Regions from separate parts of the Homo sapiens genome. Here all the other regions are linked to region 4. Evidence: promoter capture Hi-C in 16 types of primary human blood cells and fetal thymus (Javierre and others, 2016). All regions are on one chromosome and are shown on one strand. The core of a region is centred on a gene start or on the middle of the fragment in contact, and the rest is flanking DNA. Distances in the headings are between cores, read along the strand shown.

Evidence for each region. The method cuts DNA at HindIII sites, captures the fragments that hold promoters and counts their contacts. A CHiCAGO score of 5 or more calls a contact.
Region 1: a fragment that was not itself captured here is called in contact with the fragment with the promoter of PREPL in region 4 in 5 of 17 cell types (activated CD4 T cells, non-activated CD4 T cells, total CD8 T cells and 2 more); the score reaches 8.9 in activated CD4 T cells.
Region 2: a fragment that was not itself captured here is called in contact with the fragment with the promoter of PREPL in region 4 in 7 of 17 cell types (naive CD4 T cells, monocytes, activated CD4 T cells and 4 more); the score reaches 10.5 in naive CD4 T cells.
Region 3: a contact is called between a fragment that was not itself captured here and the fragment with the promoter of PREPL in region 4, in 1 of 17 cell types (neutrophils). The highest score is 9.1, in neutrophils.
Region 5: a contact is called between a fragment that was not itself captured here and the fragment with the promoter of PREPL in region 4, in 1 of 17 cell types (monocytes). The highest score is 6.2, in monocytes.

The regions. Positions count from the first base shown.
Region 1 is chr2:42,811,358-42,815,742 of GRCh38, reverse strand. No RefSeq gene overlaps it. Among named protein-coding and RNA genes, the nearest start is that of TRI-TAT2-1, 3.0 kb to the right of the region's middle. RefSeq lists enhancers at 4,264-4,343, 4,374-4,385. The HindIII fragment of the contact is 2,540 bases long and covers 1,752-4,291 here.
Region 2 is chr2:45,561,853-45,565,771 of GRCh38, reverse strand. It overlaps SRBD1 (S1 RNA binding domain 1), which reads left to right. Exons shown (of 21, transcript NM_018079.5): 10 at 3,016-3,119. Among named protein-coding and RNA genes, the nearest start is that of SRBD1, 47 kb to the left of the region's middle. The HindIII fragment of the contact is 5,234 bases long and covers 1-3,919 here.
Region 3 is chr2:45,644,317-45,648,404 of GRCh38, reverse strand. No RefSeq gene overlaps it. Among named protein-coding and RNA genes, the nearest start is that of PRKCE, 5.3 kb to the left of the region's middle. The HindIII fragment of the contact is 810 bases long and covers 1,152-1,961 here.
Region 4 is chr2:44,359,888-44,363,820 of GRCh38, reverse strand. PREPL (prolyl endopeptidase like) reads left to right here and starts at 2,327. Exons shown (of 14, transcript NM_001171613.2): 1 at 2,327-2,441. It overlaps CAMKMT (calmodulin-lysine N-methyltransferase), which reads right to left and starts at 1,874. Exons shown (of 11, transcript NM_024766.5): 1 at 1,676-1,874. The coding sequence starts at 1,813. RefSeq lists enhancers at 1,167-2,060, 1,779-2,248, 1,485-2,684, 2,061-2,955. The HindIII fragment of the contact is 3,162 bases long and covers 977-3,933 here.
Region 5 is chr2:45,581,133-45,585,208 of GRCh38, reverse strand. SRBD1 (S1 RNA binding domain 1) reads left to right here. Exons shown (of 21, transcript NM_018079.5): 6 at 3,399-3,516. Among named protein-coding and RNA genes, the nearest start is that of SRBD1, 28 kb to the left of the region's middle. The HindIII fragment of the contact is 2,593 bases long and covers 1,198-3,790 here.

The sequences.
Region 1 (4,385 bases), core at 1,772-4,271, 1.5 Mb after region 4:
GGCTGAAGAAAACCTTGAGCATGCAATTAGCCAAAATCTGTGGGAAATTCTAAAGGTCAACAAAGAAATGTCATAAAAGGGGGTGAAAAGAGAGGAAATTCGAATAGATTAAAAGAGATTTATCCTTTAAATATCTTAAAGGATACACCAATCAAATGCCAAGGACAGCCCATATTTGGATCTTGATTCAAACAAACCAATCTTCTGTAAAAATATTTTTCAGAGATATGGGTAGCAATTTGAAAGCAGATGAGGTATGAGATGAAGCTAAGTAATTATTATTACTCTTGTTGGGTGTAATAATGATACCATGGTTATGCTTTTTTAAAAAAGTGATTACCTGTTGGGTATATATGCTGAAGTTTTGACAGGTTAAATTAAACCATATCTAGGATTTCCTCTAAAATATTCCAGAGGTAAGGGGTGAATGTTGTGGGAAGGATATAGATAAAACAATGTTGACAATTCTTTAAAAGTGGAAACATGGGGGTTAACTATACTGTTCTCTCTACTTTTGTGTATGTTTGAAATTTTCCATAATAAAGAATTGGGCTTTGGTTTCGTTTTGTTGAATTTTAAATGAGCTTGTTTCTACAGATCACAGCCCTCTGGCTGTGTTCTGACCTACTGAGAGTTCAACAGGATTCCCTCCCTTTACCCATATGGAGGCCACACACTCAATATCTGTAGGGTACAAATGACTGAAATGAGCCTGGGATAAAGAAAACAGCAAAGCAAGCCAGTGAATCAAGGCAGCTGGCACCTACCTCTGTGTTGGAGAATAATGGAGAGTGACAGGGACCGTGGCAAACCGAAAGCCACATACACATCCAAGATGGGCAGTCAGTCTTGCCATATAGGAATAAGGGCCCCAGATGGCCCGGCTTTTTTTTTTTTAGACAAGGTCTCACTCTGTCTCCCAGGCTGGAATACAGTGGTGTGATCTTGGCTCACTGCAACCTCCGCCTCTCAGGTTCAAGAGATTCTCCTGCCTCAGCCCCCCGAGTAGCTGGGACTACAGGCATGGCGAATTTTTGTATTTTTAGTAGAGGTGGGATTTCGCCATGTTGGCCAGGCTGGTCTTGAACTCCTGACCTCAGGTGATCCACCCGCCTCAGCCTCCCAAAGTGCTGGGATTACAGGCGTGAGGCACCACACCCAGTCCTGACTTTTCATTAGAAACTGAAAATCTCGGCATTTCTGTGAAATCTCCCAATATGGAGGCAAATGATTTTTTTTTTTTAATGTCAGCACTTTGCAAGTTAGTGCTGGAAGGCCAAACAAAATCTGTCTGCAGGCTAGATTTGTTCCATAGATGGCTGGTTTGTGATCCCTGACACCACAGCATCTAATGCATTATATAGTAATGCATTAATAATCAGTTGACATTCTTAGCAGTTGGGTCACACTGCTGGCACAACCGAGGTTGCACACATCTGAAATCCCCAGATCTTTTACATGCAAACAGCTGTCAAGCCAGGCATCCTCACACATGGAACTTTGAACTGAACATAGACTTACAATTATCTCTATGAAAATTGCATCTTATCATTTGTCAGAAACATTTGCCTCCAGATTGGCTCCACTCTTCTTCTAAATTCTACTGAATCTGCACTCCTTTCAGGCTGTGTCACCCCTAGCTCTGATGAGCCCTTCTTCATCCAAGCATTCTACAAAGCCAAGGTCAGCCTGGGTTACATCAGGTTTCTCTCCTGCTGGGGCCTGGGGTTGTTCAGTTGTCACTTCAAGCTTCCTTCGCAGTTTGGTCACTTCATACTTACCCACTTCCTTCTTGAAGCCACTACACAGTATAGTCAGGCCTAAGCCAGTGGTCTGATGCTAATAAAAATGTCATAATACTTTGTGGTTTTTAAAGCATTTTCCCATATTCTGACTTGATTTTTTTTTTTTTAATTGAGACAGAGTCACTCAGGCTGGAGTGCAGTGGTGCAATCTCAGCTCACTGCTGCCTCGACCTCTTGGGCTCAGGTGAGCCTCCCACCTCAGCCTCCCAAGTAGCTGAGACTACAGGCGTGCCTCATCACACTGGGTTAATTTTTGTATTTTTTGTAGAGACAGGGTTTCACCATGTTGCCCAGGCTGGTCTGGAACTCCTGGGCTCAAACAATCCTTCTGCCTCAGCCTCCCAAAGTGTTGGAATTACGGTGTGAGCCACCATGCCCTGCCTCACTTGATTTTTATCACCCACCACAACCTTAAAAAATTCTATCAACATCACTTTAAGACACTGGGCCACAAATAGGCTCAGAGTATGTTTGTTGTTTATGGCCTAATCAATAATTTCGTAGCTGAAGATTTCTAAATTAAGGAAAGAAGAACTAGTTTAGCTTCCTTCCAACCCTACCATCTTATCAGGAAAACAGTTCCTAAAGCCACTGCCATTCCAGCAGTAACCAGTAGGGACAGAAACAATATTGAAGAATGTTCTAACCATAAGAGTTGTTGGAAAATGGAATAAGTTGCCTTGAGAGGAACTGAAATTCTGATGCTAGCAGTTTTCAAATAGGAGCTAGGGTTTTGTGGAAAGGATTTCTCTGTGGATAGGAGGTTGACAGAATGATCTCTCATTCATTTATTGTTGTCTGTTTGGGATCTTGCTTTGAGCTCAGCTCTCAGAAGTACCTAAGAGACTCCTGGTGGTCAGTGAGTTACCTGTGAAGATTAGAAACCTGCACTTTCTGAGTCTGATCACTTTTCTGTTTGTGCATTTTAAAATTAATCACCTCTTACAAAGCAGTTTTTGGCAAATTTCCTTTTGAAAATGCCAACCCTTTCTCCATTATTCAAAAATGGAAAGAATCCATACAATGGACTGTCATACAGTCATAAAAAGAAATGAAGCACTGATATATGGTACAATATGGATGAATATTGAAAACATTATAAAGTGAAAAAGCCAATTACAAAAGACCACATGCTGTATAATTCCATTCGTAGGAAAGTCCAGACTAGGGAAATCTACAGAGACAAAAAGTGGATTTGTGGTTGCTTAGGGCTGGTGGGGGAACAGGATGGGAAGATGAGAGGGTGAGAACTAGTCTTGAGGTGATGAAAATGTTTGAAAATTTACTGTGGTGATGATTGTACTTATCTGTGAATATACTAAAATCCATTGTACACTGTAAAATGGGCGAGTTGTATGGTATAGGAATTATATCCCATTAAAGCTGTTGGGTTTTTTGTTTTTTTTTTTATAGAAAGTAAGCATACTTTTTTTTTTTTTTTTTTTTTTTTTTTGAGACGGAGTCTCGCTGTGTCGCCCAGGCTGGAGTGCAGTGGCGCGATCTCGGCTCACTGCAATTTCCGCCTCCCAGGTTCAAGCAATTCTCCTGCCTCAGCCTCCCGAGTAGCTGGGATTACAGGCGCACGCCACCACAGCCGGCTAATTTTTTGTATTTTTAGTAGAGGCGGGGTTTCACAGTGCTAGCCAGGATGGTCTCCTGACCTCGTGATCCGCCCGCCTTGGCCTCCCAAAGTGCTGGGATTACAGGCGTGAGCCACCACGCTCAGCCGCAAGTTTTTTTTGTTTTGTTTTGTTTTGTTTTGTTTTTTTAGACAGGTCTGGCCCAGGCTGGAGCAGTGGTGCCATCTCAGCTCACTACAACCTCGGCCTCTCGAATCCAAGAGATCCTCTCACCTCAGCCTCCCGAGTAGCTGGGATTACAGGTATGCGCCACCACACCCGGCTAATTTTTGTATTTTTAGTAGATACGGGGTTTCGCCCTGATGGCCAGGCTGGTCTTAAACTCCTGGGTGATTAAAAAAAAAAAAAAATCCGCCGACCTTAGCCTCCCAAGCCGGGATTACAGGCGTGAGCCACCGCGCCTATTTTTTTATTATTATTATTATTCTTTTTTAATGGATAGAGATTTTATTTGTTTCTAAGCCTGGGCTGCATTTCTACAGGGGACCTATCCCATGCCTCTGAGGATGTCTGTGAGCCAGAGGCGACCTCCCCGGGGCTGGCGAGGAACCCGGCACCAGGACGAGGGGAAGTGGGCGGCCCTTCCCACATTCCAGTTGGCATAGGGTTCCTGTTCTGCATCGAGGGGCTGGATGGGTGAGAGCAACCGAAGCCTGGGCTAGCGCAGGAGATAGACAAGAGCTCCGCCCTCCATCCATTTCTCTGAACGTTCTAGGTCTTGATTTTCACCACTCGCGGGGTAATATTTCCACCCAAAATCTAGCAACGATCCCGTCCATGAAAACAGCTGAAAATCTCCCCTTTGAAAGAACACGTCCAGGAGGCTTTCCATCCCTTAACTAAGCTTGTGCCCGCTTTGCCTACCCCCCCTGGCGATGTGGGGCAGGGCGCATCCGCCGGCGACCACTTGGCCTGATTTCCCGGCCCCCGGGAGGACTTC
Region 2 (3,919 bases), core at 93-2,592, 1.2 Mb before region 4:
CCTTATTGTTGAGCTGTAGGAGTTTTAAATATATTCTAGATACCCTTATGTGACATATGATTTGCAAAAATTTTTGTCCCATGCCGTGCATTTTCTTTTCACTTTCTTGATACTATTCTTTGAGGCACAAAAACTAAAATTTGTTGAAGTTCAATCTAGTTTTTTGTTATTGATTACACTTTTGGTGTTATATCTAAGAAGGCTTTATGACTTGAGGTCATAAAAATTTTCTCCTTTTTTAATGGAAATTTTATAGTTTTAGTTCTTGTATTAAGGTCTAAGATCAATTTTGAGTTAATTTTTATGTATAGCGTGAAGTAGGGGTCCGTCCACTTTTGTTCTTTTGCATGTGGTGAGTTCTAGTTATTCATGATTTATTGAAAAGATTGGATTTTCTTCATTGAATTATCTTGGTACCCTTGTTGAAAATCAGTTGACACTATATGTATAAGTTTATTTCTGGACTCCGATTCTATTCCATTGTATGTCTATCCTTATGCCAGTCCCCACTGTCTTGATAACTGTGGCTTTGTAGTCAGTTTTGAAATTGGGAAGTGGGAATCTTCCAAGTTTATTTTGATTTTTAAAAATTGACTTGGCTATTCTCAGTCCTTTGAATTACTATATGTGTTTTAAAATTAGTTCACCAGTTTCCACAAAACATGCCAATTGGGATTTGATAGGGATTTCACTGAATTTGTAAATCAACTTGGGGAGTGTTGCCATCTTAGCAATATTAGGCCCTCTGATCCCTGAACATGGGATGTTCATGGGTATTTATTTAGATCTTCTTTAATTTCTTTCAACAATGTTTTGTAGTTTTCATAGTACAGTTGTTCCTTGGTATATACAGGAGATTGATTCCAGGATCCCTGCATATACCCAAATCTATGTATATGCAAGTCCCAGAGTTGGCCCTGCAGAACCCATGTATATGAAAAATCAGCTCTCCTTATGCGTGGGTTTCAGATCCTGCAATTACTGTATTTTCAATCCCTGTTTGGTTGAAAAAAATCCACGTGTAAGTCAACACATGCAGTTTAAACCTGTATTGTTCAAAGGTCAACCGTGTAAGTTGTGAACTTTTTTTGTTAAATTTATTCCTAAGTATTTTATTCCTTTTGGTGGTATCATAAATGGAATTAAAAAAAATTATTTTCAGAATGTTTATTGCTAGTATGTATAAATTAATTTTATTTGTTGAGCTTGTGTTCTGCAACTTTGCTGAACTCTTTATTAGTTCTAATAGTTTTGTAGTGGATTGCTTAGAATTTTCTATATATAAGATCATGTTAGCTGCAAATAGAGAAAGTTTTACATCTTCCTTTCCAATATAGATGGCCTCCCTTCTTTTCCCTGGCTAGAACCTTCAGTACAATGTTGTGAGAGTGGACACGCTTGTCTTGTTCCTGGTCTTTGACCAGTAAATATGATGTTAGCTGTGAGATTTCTGTGCACAAGCCCTTTCTCATATTAAAGAACTTTCCTTATATTTCCAAGTTTTTTGAGTGTTTTTTATCATGAAGGGCTACCTGATTTTGTCAGATGTTTTTCCACATCTATTGAGATGATCATAGGATTTTTGTTATTTATTCTATTGATATAATGTGTTAGGTTAATTGATTTTTTAGATGTTAAATCAACCGGGCATTCCTGGAATTGATTCTAGTTGATCTTGGTGTATAATCCTTCTTATATATTTCTGGATGTGGTTTGCTATTACTTTATTGAGGATTTTTACATCTATATTCATAAGAGATATTGGTTTGTAGTTTTCTTGTGAAGTCTTGTCTGGTTTTTGTATCAGAGTAATACTGGCCTCATAGAAATATATGTGAAGTTTTTCCTTCTCTAATATCTTTTGGAAAGTTTGTGAAGAATGGATATTGATTCTTTTTAGAATGTTTGGTAGAATTCAATGGTGGTGCCATCTGGGCCTGGACATTTATTTGTGGGAAATTTTCAAATTACTAATTCAGTGTCCATACTTTTTATAGGTGTGTTCAGATTTTCTGTTTCTTTTTGGTTTGTTTTTGGTAGTTTGTATCTTTTAGGAATTTGTCCATTTTATCTTAGTTATCTAATTTGTCATACAGTTGCTCATGGTATCTCTTATAATCTTTTTTATTTCTATAAGGTCCTTAGTAGTGGCCTCTCTTTTGTTCCTGATCTTGGTGTTTGAGTGTTTCCTGTTGTTTTTCTTGATTAGTCTAGCGAAAGGTCTGTTAATTTTGTTGATATCTTCAAAGAACCAACTTATGGTTTTGTTGATATTTATTGCTTTTCTATTCTCTATTTTATTTTTACCCTATTATTTATTATTTTCTTCTGCTTGTTTTGGTTTTGTTTATACTTTAAGGAGTGTTTTTAATGTGTTTTAAGACAGTCGTTCTTTTAATATTTTAATTAAGAGCATGGACAGATTGATCTGAAGTTTAAATTCTTTTTTTGCTACTTGCTAGCTTTGTGATTTGCAACAAGTTAGTTTCAGAAAAATTATTATATAAAGTGAAGATAATACACACATTACTGGTGACTCTAAGGATTACTTGAGATAATATATTTAAAGTGCTTAGATAGGCTCTACAATTAGTAATGCTCAATGGATGGTAACAATTTGTAGCTACTAAATATTGCACCTAGGATTTTACATGTTTGTATTTATCTTAGCACAGGTTATCTTTTCAAATTATAAAAAGTATACCCTTCCAACTCCAGATAATCAAAAATTTTCAATTAGTAGAATCTGAAATGAGATTTTTAGATCATCAAAGTCTCTTCTTGTAAATGTGTTAGATAGGCTTTGTATCTGCATTTTATTTTCTAAGAGCATGTTAGGGTTTTCCTTATGTGGGAGGTATGTTACTTGAAAAAAGTGTAAGTAAATGATTATTTTAAAATGTATTCTTGTTTAATAAACGAGTAAAAAATTCATATAGCTGTCAGCTACATAGTCGCCTGATTTGTTTCATATATTTTGTGGATTATTAGTCTTTGCCTTATGTTTGCACTCAGATTCTGGCAATTAACCGTGGAGAAAATTTGAAGGTACTGACGGTTAAGGTCAATATTTCTGATGGAGTGAAGGATGAATTCTGTAGGTGGTGCATCCAAAACAGGTCTGTTTACAGATATTTACAGAATTTTCTTTGTTTCTTTTCTAAAATATGATACCGATATCTATATGTACTGATATGTAAAGATGTCTATTACGTGAACATTTTTAAAAAGCCAGTGACAGGCCGGGCGCGGTGGCTCACGCCTGTAATCCCAGCACTTTCGGAGGCTGAGGGGGGTGGATCGCGAGGTCAGGAGTTCAATATGAGCCTGGCCAAGATGGTGAAACCCTGTCTCTACTGAAAATACAAAAACAAAAAATTAGCTGGGCATGGTGGTGCACACCTGTAATCCCCGCTACTTAGGAGGCTGAGGCAGAGAATTGCTTGAACCCAAGAGGCTGAGGTTGCAGTGAGCCGAGATCACACCACTGCACTCCAGCCTGGGCGACAGAGCAAGACTCCATCTCAAGAAAACAAACAAACAAACAAAAAACCCACCAATAACAGACAAGGTATGTAGTGTCCTTTTTGAATTAAAAAAAATAATAAAATAAGTATGTGTGTCATGCATATTTAAACAGAGAATATCCAGGAGGGTGTGTGAGGAATTTTTGATAGTGATTATCTCTGTGGAGAAGAACTGTTTTACTTCATTACTTTTCTGTACTATTTGAAACTTTTGTAAGATCATCTTTTCCCTTGCAAAAATAAACTAACAAAAATATGCTCTATGTATCATATCTGAAGTGTTTAGCTCTTTAAGGATGATGGAAACAAAAATTAACTTATTGGATATTACAATATAAATAAGCATTCTGTATGTGGGGATAAATGTTGCATGTTAAGGATGATTGAAAGAA
Region 3 (4,088 bases), core at 307-2,806, 1.3 Mb before region 4:
AGTGGTTAGCATATACATTGAGTAAAATGACCTTTGGATTCCAACTATGGCCTAGTTATTTCATAATCTTTGTGAGAAGGAAGAAAATGATACAATAATTTAACAAAGATGACCAAAATGGAGCCTTTCTCCTTTCAAAATTAAGGCTTATGAGAAAAGAATAGAACAACAGATGTGGCCAGGACAGGGCGATCAGTGTTGCAATAGGTCTATGGATGGGAGTGGCACAGAAGAAGGATCACCCCTTTGCCTGGGGAGCCTGGGAAGGCATCAACCAGCAGAATCCTTTGAGCTGAGTCTAGGCTTTCCAACAGGAGTTCTTCCAGCAGCAAAGAGGGAAGGGAAGGGTACTGGCTGCAAAAAGTATAATGTGTACAGGTAGGAAAGCCATGACTCTTCAGGTAAGCGGCCAGGTGTGCCCCACTTGTGGCAGGTAGTAACAGGAGATGAAGTAAGTAGGAACCTGATAGTTAAGACCTCAGAGGGCCTGCAGATGGGTCTCAACTTTTTCCTGGAGAGACACCAAACATTCCAGCGGGCAAGCAGCATAACTAGAGTTAATACTTTACAAAGGCGATTTTGTGATGGATAAATATTTTTCTCTTCTGTAATTTTCCTCCAGAAGGCTCACCTCAAAACAGGGTATTAGACAAAGAGAAGATCCAAGTCTGAAGATGATTTACACTCTGTATAATCAAAATTGAAACTGTCTGTGGATACTGTTTAGATCAGCTGGAGGAAGCGGGGAAGGGGGAGCCAGAACCGTAGACTAGCGCGTTAATATTCATGTCCCTGTTGCTGTGCTGGTTGTTGCCATTTATAGAATGTTAATGGGCTTCTGCAAAGGTCTGCCTGGTCAGGGTCTATCATACATTCCACACATGCTCCGCTGAACAGAATCCAACCACCTGGGCCATGGGATGGAACGCGCAGCAGTATAATGACACAGAAACCTTCTAGAGCTCCGCTGGTCCTGCCCCAGCCTAGCCCCCACCCGACCCTGAGCCCCACTTCAAACTTTGCCCCACACCTATACTCCTGTGGTGGGCTTTTGTCTGCCCTGCCATGTCTTCTTATTTTGGCCCCATCTCAGCTCCGAATTCTGGCCCCATCTCTGCTCTATATTCTGTTGCAGTGACTCAGGCCAAGCTTCACTTAATACCTGCAAAGAGGTGGAGGGATCAGAGGCAGCCCTATCGAGCTTGCTGATGGATGCAGAAGGAGATGGCCTGGTGCCCCTATTCCTCAGGGCCTGTGACTGTGAGCCCTACTCACTAGGATGCCATTTGGAGAATAGCATAACATTCTTCATCTTCTGTGGGTCAGATGTTGGGTTGTGTCTTGGGATTTTTTTTTTATAAGGGACAGAGTCTCACTCTGTTGACCAGGCTGGAGTACAGTGACACAATCACAGTTCACTGCAGCCTTGGCCTCCCAGACTTGAGCAATTCTCCCACCTCAGCCTCCTGAGTGGCTGGGACTAAAGCCATGTGCCACCATGCCCAGCTAAAGTTTTTTGATTGTTTTTGTAGAGATGGGGTCTCACTATGTTGCTCAAGCTGGTCTTGAACTCCTGGACTCTAGTGGTCCTCCTGCATCAGCCTCCCAAAGTGCTGGGATTACAAGTGTGAGCCACCGTGCCTGGCCCCTGTCTTGGACTTTTAAGATCATATGTCAATCCAAGGGTCTTTACTAAGTACTTGCTATATATAGGATACTAGGGCAGGTGCTCCAGGGAGGATAAATAGCTATATGGATAATCCCTACTCTACCTGGGGAGATGAGTAGATCAATTCAGTCGGTCCTTTATTTAACAGTCAGTAGTGTCATGTCATGTCATTTGGAGCACTAGGGAAACAAAAAATGACAACACAAAATGGCCCTTTATTAGTCAGGATTGGCTAGGTCATGCTGCTGTAATAAGCTCTCCCCAGATCCCAACACCTTAAAAGAACAAAGCTTTCTTCTCATGCATGCTGTAAGTCTATGGCAGGTTGGTTGGGAGCTCTGCTTCCCATTAGCGTCATTCTCACTTCTGGATCCAGGCTGGCTAAAAAGTTACCATCTGGAACATGGCTGGTCATGGGCAGAGAGAAAAAGGATGTCTGGAGGGTCTTACACAGGCAATTAAATAGTCCACCTGGTGGCTCATGCCTGTAATCCCAGCATTTTGGGAGGCCCTGGGTAGCAAAACCTCATCTCTACAAAATAAAATAAAATTAAATTAAATTAAAAAAACATAGCTGAGCATGGTGACGGGTGCCTGTAATCCCTGCTACCTGGGAGGCTGAGGTGGGAGAATTGCTTGAGGAGGCTGCAGTGAGCCAAGATTGTGACACTGCACTTCAGCCTAGGCAACAGAGCCAGACCCTGTCCCCCACCTGCCCCCCACCCAAAAAAATCCATCTGGAAGTGCTAAATATCATTTGTGCCCACTAATTGTTAGCTAGAACCAGTCTCAGATCCCGCCTTCCCCAACCACAGGGTCTGGGAAGTTCTACCATCTGTACTGTCAAGGAGCATGGAATGTTTGGTGAATAGCACTGAAGACTGCCATAGACACTATTCTCAAATGACAGGTGCAGAAAGGTAATTCAAGGTGGCACACAATAAATAACAAATAATCAGCCCACTCAGAAAGCACTATAGGAACTTAGGGTAGCAATAATCACAGTAAGAGTCAGACTGTTTGACCGTCCTCCCTCCCTTTTGCTCTGGGCCACTGCATACAGAAGACTCCAGATGACATGGAGAATCCTGCCTAATATCAGAACCAGCAGCCATCCAAGCTCCTTTCCCCTCCCCGTTATATGCTTAACACCTCATGGGACGTGCAGTTCCTTAAAGCCACTTTAGAACCACGGCAGCACAAAGGAGGCATTTGGGCCCAACAGAACTGAGAAGACTTACTTGTTAAACTCTGTGGGATTTGAGGGATCACTTGGTTTGTTTAATTAATTAATTAAGTTTTTGAAATGGAGTCTTGCTTTGTCACCCAGGCTGCAGTGCGGTGGCACACAATCTCGTCTCACTGCTGCAACCTCAACCTCCCAGATTCAAGCAATTCTCCTGCCTCAGCCTCCTAAGTAACTGAGATTATAGGCACACACCACCATGCCCAGCTAATTTTTGTATTTTTTTTTAGTACAGACAGGGTTTCACCATATTGGCCAGGCTGGTCTCAAACTCCTGACCTCAAGTGATCCACCTGTCTCAGCCTCCCAAAGTGCTGGGATTACAGGCATGAGACACTGCGCCCAGACTATATTCTTTATTGTTATTAAATTCCTCTATTAAATGAGGAAACTGATACCTAGAGAAGTTAACTGACTTGCCAAAAAAAAAAAAAAAAAAAAAAACAGAAAAAAAAACCCCAAAACACTACCTAGAGGTCTAGACCCAAATCTTATACCTTATACATTGACTGTTCTTTCTACATTGCCATGCCGGAACCAAGGCAGCACTATTTAATGATAATCATGTCAATTACATTTTAATTCCTTGGAAACATTTTTATAAACCTAAGGTCTAGATTTGTTTTAATTTATTGGCTCCAAATTAAACTAGCCTTAGCACAGTGCAATATAATAATTCTTTCAATAATAATCTATACTATAATAACATAATTCTCAAGGGAACTATGATGTTGATAGAGTTCTTCCTTAAGTTGTTTGGTAATAAGAGTCTTTAAAACAAAAAGACTGAAAGACTTTGTTGTTCTTCAACTTCTATATTTTTGTGTCTCCTCTCCCAATACCAATAGAATTATTGAGGTATTTTTGGCGGATGGTTTGATGCTACCTGTAACCAAGTTTAACAGCTGTCTCCCAGGCTCCCCTGTGGATATTTTACCAATTAGCAGAATGACTGATCTGATTGTTCAGACTAGGTTATATATCTCTAGCACATTCTGGATATTTGGTGAATCCATTTTTATTTCTAATTTACCTTTCAGGATCAACAAGCTGGGGCTAAAGGGCAAGGAATATTGCCTTTTGTCACTGATAAGCATTTGCGTGTAACAGAATGTGTAACCAGAACTGCTTAAATCCACGGGTTCTGTTGCAACACATGTGTTGGAAAGCTGC
Region 4 (3,933 bases), core at 1,078-3,577:
TATTCGGAAGGCTGAGTACGGGAGAATTGCTTGAACCAGGGAGGCGGAGGCTGCAGTGAGCCGAGATTGCGCCATTGCACTCACGTCTGGGCAACACAGTAAGGCTCTGTATCGAAAAAAAAAAAAAAAAAAGAAGGGGGTTGCCGGGCACGGTGGCTCATGCCTGTAATCCCAGTACTTTGGGAAGCCGAGGTGGGTGGATCACCTGAGGTGGGGAGTTCGAGACCAGCTTGACAAACATGGAGAAACCCCGTCTCTACTTAAAAAAAAAAAAAATTAGCCAGGCGTGGTGGTGCATGCCTGTAATCCCAGCTACTGGGGAGACTGAGGAAGGAGAATCATTTGAACCCTAGAGGCGGAGGTTGTGGTGAGCGGAGATGGCAGCCATTGCAGTCCAGCCTGGGCAACAAGAGGGAAACTCCATTTCAAAAAAAAAGGAGGGGGGAAGGGGGGTTGAGTCCACTCTCCCCAGCTCACGCCAGATCTCATTTCAGTGGTCACTATTAAAAAAAATTAGATATTTACTTTATTATAGATACTTCCTATGATGATCTGTGAGGACATGCATTTTCTTATCCTGTAATACCATTTGTAACAATAGCAAAACCAGATCATTACTGGTCTGGAAAGACTGTCAATGTATCAGCAAATAAATCTTAATTAACTCTGATGATCTACTTAACTCATAACTCTAAAAGCACTAAAAGACCACTGTATGAAAAGGTGACTCAAGGCAACTGCAAACAAAGTGATCCCCAAAATACTAAAAGCACAATCTCAAGTAAAGTGGCAATAGCTGGGAAACTCTTTTCCAAACACAACTGTCAGAAATGGAAAAATGTCCTCCTGAGTAAAGTTTTCGGCAGAAAACTTCAGGCAGAGGCATAACACTGCTATGCAAAAACAATAACCAGACTTCACTTCAAGAAGTGAGCGAAGAATGTGAGTGATCATAAATCAGAACTTCCGTCAAGCTTGCACGAGTGGAGTTGTAAGTAACAGCAGAAACTTTGAAGTACCAGAAGATACCATCATTCAAAAACGAACACACTTTGACTAGCCCACCTTGGACACGGAGAATCTCGCTGATCACTACAAACTACAAGATAATCATTTAACTTTGAGACCTCAGTGAGAGAGGGTATCAGCTTTTCCTACTCCTTGCACGCTCCGCTGTACGGAAGATGCCGAGGGAACGCATGCCGTGTCTCAGTCCCGGCATAGTCAACCACGCTGGGCAAAAGACGGGGCCAGAGGGTGCAGACGAATATCGGTAACTCGAACCAGGCTGGGAGTTAAGCTAGAAGAAACTGGGGAAGGAGGCAAAACAGAAGCAGGAAAAGAGCAGTGGGGAGCGGCGGGCGCACCAGAGACTGGCGAGAAGGGGAAAAGTCCCCCAGACGCACAAAAATGTCTAGAAGGGGTTCTTCTACTTCGATCTGAGTTTCCCAGGAGCTCAGCCTTGGCTGTCCCGCTCCCCACCCAACCCCACATGATTCCTCCTCTTGGATGGGACGCTTAGGTGAAGCGAGGGGGAGCTTCGCAGGTGGCTCCCGGCAAACTGAGAAGGGTCTCCCAGAGCTGCCAAGAGGAAAGAACTGCGAACAGTCGCTCCCCCGGTACGTGAGAGAGGAGTGACCAGAGGCAAAGGTGAGGCGAGCAGGTTCTCCCTTACCTGCCGCAGGAGCTTCCACCGGGCGGCTCCCAGGGGCGCCGAGACTACGGGCCCCCGAGTGGTGCAGCCAACTGCCGGACTCCCGCCCGCTGCTCGCGCGGTCTCGCCGGTCCCAGCGTCCGCGACTCGCGACTCCATCTCACTGGAGCCTTCCACACCCGGAGGTGCCACCGCCGCAGCTCGTCCCCTGCCAGGACCTGCCAACTTCTTCCCTGTCAGGACCTGTGACGCCCGGCACCCTCCCTCCACCGGACCAGGCATGCGCGCTCTCCCCGAATTCCGCATTTCCGGTACTCGCATCTCCTTGGCAACCAGGGCCGAGCTGTCACGCCATTGCACCATTCTTGCTGGTAGCCATCTTGAGTGAGGGCGGACCAGAGGATGAGAGAGCTGTGGCAGGGCTACTGGAACGCTGTCCCTCATTGTTTTAGCCTTCTGTGCTTCATCTCGAGCTCAGAAGACTAGCGAAGAACGAAAAGTCTTATATATTTCGAGACTAAAGAACCCAGGAACCCAAGAAGACTCCTTGACCACAACAAAGATGGCGAAATCTGCCTGTTGCTCGTGCTAGATTGAGGTTACGTAGATTGGCGTGCTGCAAACCAGCTCTAGGCGGCTCTGGGTAAGTTGTCGTTCTGTGGGCTGCGGAACGCAGACTTCGGCTGGACTTGCCTGCGGTGACACCTGCTCCCCTCTGAGAGCTTCAGGTTCTCCGGCCTGCCTTCACTGGTTTGTGTCCAGAGCCGGACTGATTCTCTCAATTTGCGTATGTATGGGGGGTGTGCTGGTCTCTTTCCTTCTCCCCTTTCTCCCCCCGCCCAGCCACCCACCCCTCAGTCCCCAGGTCCTCGCTTTTTGACTAATGTCCCGGCACTGCGTGCGTGTCACCTGGTCCCTCTCCCTGTTGCATTCAGATCGCCTCATCCCTGGGGTGGAGAGTTGCACGGGGTAAACGAATAGGTTCTCCTGAGAACACCCATTTATCTACCCCACCCCCATCCTAGCCTTGCATACTGTCTTCTTGGGGATGAAAGATGGATGGATAAAGGCTGTGGGAACGTGGTGATGTAGGACCTTTGCAGGTCCTTGTTATTCGGGTCTTTTTTCCCCTTTTTTTACTAGTGTCGGCTAGTAAACTAGTGTTGCTCCCCTACCCCCAATCGCCCATTATTTTGCTGCGACATGGAAAGGGATTAAGGGGGGCGGGGGCGTCGTAGCGCATCTGATCTATGGTAAATTTGACGCAGCATTCTACCTTTGATACCAGGGGGCATTTTGTGGAAGACTTCCATAATGACATTCAGCGGTGTGCAACATACCTAGATTATTCCTGTCGTAAATAATAGCAACTGCCATTTATTGAGTGGTCACTATGTGCCAGGCACTGTATGGTCTTAATGTTAAGCTGTCTCATTTTGTCTTTACAACAACAACCCTAGAAGGTAAATGGTGTCATTTCATTTTTGCAGATGAAGAAACTGAGGCCCGGAGACACAGTTAAGTGTAGGAGCTAAGACCTCAACCCAGGTCTCTCTGACTCTTAACTACTTATTAGCAATCAAGGTTAATAAAAGCTACCTCCTGACAAACCAGAGATGGCCTTACATTTTATTTGTGCATCTTGCAGGGGTTTTTTGTTGTTTTTAATTAAAGCGCTAAATACCTTTTTAACATTAAAAATCCGAAGTTGAGTATGTCCAGTATTTGGAACCGAACCAAATTGGATTTTTTGCTATACAGCTTACTGTACAAGTGACCTGGAACAGTTGCTTAGAACCTCCCACAGCCACAGTTTGGCAACCTGTAAAATGTGCATGGTAATATCTACTTTATTAAGTCCATATAAAATTTAAATTAGACAAACAAGATAAAAGCACCTGGCAGTTAGTTAACACTCAACAATAATTAATCTTCCCTCCCCCACCTTTATTAAATAATTAGGCTTTTCCAGTTTATCTTCCACATATATACCAAAGATACGTTCATAATTATGTAAGACCAAAGGGCTTTTTACCTTTTACAGCCCTGAGTTCCTGAGATACCCCATTAAGTCTGTGTACTTATTTGCAAATTTATATTTTGTTTCTTGTTTTGTTTTTTGTTTTAGTTTAACCCCTATGTGTGCCAGAGTCAGTGCTGCATAGTTTGAGCCTGATAGGATTAACTTTACAAATGAGACATTTAAGTCACATCTGCCAAGAATTATGATTTGAATGAAACTTTAACTTACACAGGTTTTTAGATTTAGTTAGCCTAAG
Region 5 (4,076 bases), core at 1,245-3,744, 1.2 Mb before region 4:
CAGTATAGAGTTTGGTAGGAAATATGTATATTTCCTTTTCCCATCTTTTTTTTTTTTCGGAGACAGAGTCTTGCTCTGTCGCCTGGGCTGAAGTGCAGTGGTGCAATCTCAGCTCACTACAATCTCTGTATCCCAGGCTCAGGCGACTCTCCTGCCTCAGCCTCCCGAGTAGCTGAGATTACAGGAATGCGCCACCACGCCCCACTAATTTTGTATTTTTAGTAGAGACAGGGTTTTGCCATGTTGGCCAGGCTGATTTTGAACTCTTGGCCTTAAGTGATCCACCCGCCTTGGCCTCCCAAAGTGCTGAGATGATAGGCTTGAGCCACCATGCCCAGCCTTTTTCCCATACTTTTAATGGTTATGGTAATTTAACAATAGTGGATTGTAAGTTTTGTATGGTTACAGAATGGAAAGTACCTTTTTAAAAAAATTATGCCTCTGGACTCACTGCTAATAACTGAGAAATATGTGTACAAAGACTACAAGACTGACCATATTATTCGATAGGGTTTATTAAAACACTTCACTGCTTATGCATTTATTGCATGTCTCCCATGGGCACTGTGTTAATGTGTACATTCTTCAAGTGTACAAAAAAGATCTGATTAAAATTGGATTATCATTCTACTATGAAGCCATTTTAAAAGTATTAAGGGTAATTTTTATAACAAGCTTGACAAGCTTTCTGTTATTTTGGGGGAACTTGCATCTCACTTTTCTACCTCTTGACGTTCTTTTAGTGTCAGGAGAATTAAAGTGCTAATATGTGGAAAGTTATACTTCATTGAGAGGCAGAATCAATTTGCCAATGTAAAAATATAAATGACTAAATCAAATAGTCTCAGATGCAAATGTTCCAGAGCCAGGCTAGGATAATCAAGCATGGGGAATAAGAATTGGAGATTACAAACCCTGTCTAAGAGGGGCAACCCTTGCTCGTCTCCAGTAGATTACTGTCATGCAGGGTTGTCTGCCCAGTTTGCTGGTTCTTCCTGTTTCTGAAAAGAAGCTGGTAATTTGAGTTTTTACGTAACAAATTTCTAGGCCAAACAAAACCACTCTTGACCACACCTAGAAGGCCAGCAGTTTGCAAATTCTGAAGTAAGCTTTCTGTTTGGTTGAAGGCAAGGTAATTAAGAAAGTCTGAGGGTTTTGGATCTGAAATTGGAGAAAGCCTCACAAGCAAGAAAAGCTTGCTTAAAAAATTAAAGGGTAGTCTAACAATATTTGGTTGTATGGGAGACAAATAGGAGCTGTATATCAAGAATATTATTATTTTCTTTTTCTTTAAAAAACCCTTCTATTGCAAAAGAATTCCATTCTCTGGGTTTCTATGAATAGGGGAATACATTGAATATTAGTAGAGGAGTGAATATTCCTTGAAGTAAGTGGGGGCATTGACTGGAACTTAAGAGATCTTTTTCTATAATACAGAAATTTCTTTCTGGTAATGAGATATGATCTTTATTTTTTCTTGAGCTCAGCATTTTCTATAACTAGAGCATTGATTTTCAATTTGTTAATTGCTACCCCTACATGAGAAGTAAAACCAATTTAATAAGTCATACCACTTAAAAAATGAAATAGTGAATAGAAAATACAAGAGTACATTTATGTGGTAAAGGCAAATATTGTTTCATGAAATGTTTCAATTATGTAGCATCTATATGTATGTATACTGGGTTGCAACGTAAAACATTTTTAAATTCACTGTTGAAAAGTGAATTAAAGAGTATGATTCTGGATAGTAAGAAAAGTTTTCTGTATTTTTCTCTAAAGATAATTCTCTTCTTCCTTATATGCAGGCTAATAGGACAAAAGGAATTGGCTTTTTGTTAAAATGACCTGGTAGGCTTTAGCCCTTGAAAACAGTCTTGGGCTACCATGACTATAGAAGACATACAGGTTGTAATCTAAGTACTGCATATTCTTCTTTTTAATTTATATTCTTCTCTTTAATTTATAGTCTTCTGCCTTTAGTTTTTTTTTTTTAATTTACAAGTAGATTTAATTTTCTTTTCCATCGATCATTTTGAATAAATCATATTATCATCTCTAACTTTTGCCCATCATTTTAGCAATACCATTATTAGGCAGATTCTATAAATAGGAGGTAATACAATAGGATGAGAAGCATTAACTGTAACAACAGGATTGTATATTCACAGTGAAAACCTGTTGTAAAGTGGGGGAACTACTGTGCCCACCCTTCCTTTTGTCGTTAGTTGTTTAGTGATCCCTGTAAATTGATTCCTGGAATCAACTTTTCTACATGGAATCCTGGTTCTTTTTAGTGGGGAATGGTATTTGGAAACCAATTATGGGTGCTAGGTGTGCCCATCCTGAGCAGTGATACTCCAGTAGCAATGAGCATATCTAGTACCTATACCTTGGTTTTTAAGTATCATTCTTCTGATTCCAGGGCTGGGGCAGGGAAACTAGAAGATAAGCCTGAAATATCATATGCCAGAGAATAAGGAAGTGCTCGCAGAATGACAGATACATGTCAAAAGGACACAGAAGCTAGCTTGAAGGGGTTACTTTTGGCCAAATCTGGAAAAATTTGAACATTAAGATAAATGATAGCAATGGATTGTAGCACTAAGTAAAATAAAAAACCATTAAATCTATAGTGATATAAATAAATCAGTGAATAAATTCAAAGTTTAATGAGGAATGGGATAATTATATAGTCTCAAAGTACCTCTCCACAAAATACTTATAATTACAAGAGGAATAAAGAGTACCTGTGTCTTGGAGAAACCCACAGATACTACCTTAATCAAATGATCAAAGTTAATTAGTAATGAGACAAATCAAAATCATTTGTCACCTAATAACGTGTAGTAAGAACACAGTATGACTTCTATGATATTTCTGCCAAAGATGCTCCATCGGTATTTAATTGTGAGGAAACATCAGAGAAACCCAAGCTGCAGGACATTCTACAAAATAACTGTCCAGTAGCGTTCAAAAACATCAAGGCCTTATCAAGGAGAAGAAAATCAAGGAGAGACTAAAATATTGTTTTAGCTTGAAGGAGACTGTAGTTGCATGCCAACTACATGTAACCCATAATTCTTAACTGAATCCACTATAAAGGATATTATTGGGACAGTTGGTAAAACCTGAATGAGCTCTGCATTAGATGGTAGTAATATATTAGTGTTAATTACCTGATAATGATGGTTATTTTGTGGTTATGTAGAAGATTTGTATTTGTAGGAAATCACACTAAAGTGTTGGAGTGCAGGGATGTTAACTTATTCTCAAACAGTTCAGAGACAATAAAGTTCCTTTTACTTTACCTGCAACTTTTCTGTAAGTTTGAGGTAGCTTTGAAAAGAAAGTTTTGACATACAGTTTTGGTATATTACAAAAGTTTCTCTTTTCAGGGCTGTTGCAAAGAAAGTTCATAGTACAATCCAGAAAATTAAGAAGGAAGGGAAGATGTCTGAGTGCTTGTTAAAAGCCATGCTGAATTGTAAAACTTTTGAAGAACTAGAACACGTGGTAAGGAATCCTTTTTATCTTTTAATGTAATACCTGAATATATTGCAATTTGGGTCTTCTTATGATTAAAGAACACCAAGAAATAAAAAGCTAACGTCATTAGCCACCATTATTTAATGCAACAAAATATTTATTCTTTATTCAATAAATATTTATAGAGTGTTTTTTTTGTGCTAGGCACTTGGGTTTACAAAGATGAATAAATACATAGTCTTTGTCTCAAGGAATTTCCAGTCAAGTAGGGAAGGACAGTAGATTATACAAACGTGAAGCTTATCAGAGAGGGCTGAACTAGAGATCCAGATGTGGATGTCTTCAGCCTGTAGTTGGTACGTGAAACCATGAGAATGGAAGAACTCAAGAAGTGTTTGTTAGCAGGTCAGGATTGACCACTGGAGGTTACCACCTTTTGAAGTGTGGATGGAGGATGTGAGAGCATAAGGAGGTAGGAAAAAAATAGAGAAGTATGAGGAGAATCAGGAGATGATGGTGCCCTGGAACAGCAGGGAAGAGAGTTTTAGATGGAGGTCATGATCAGCAGTTATGTGTAGCAGAGAAGT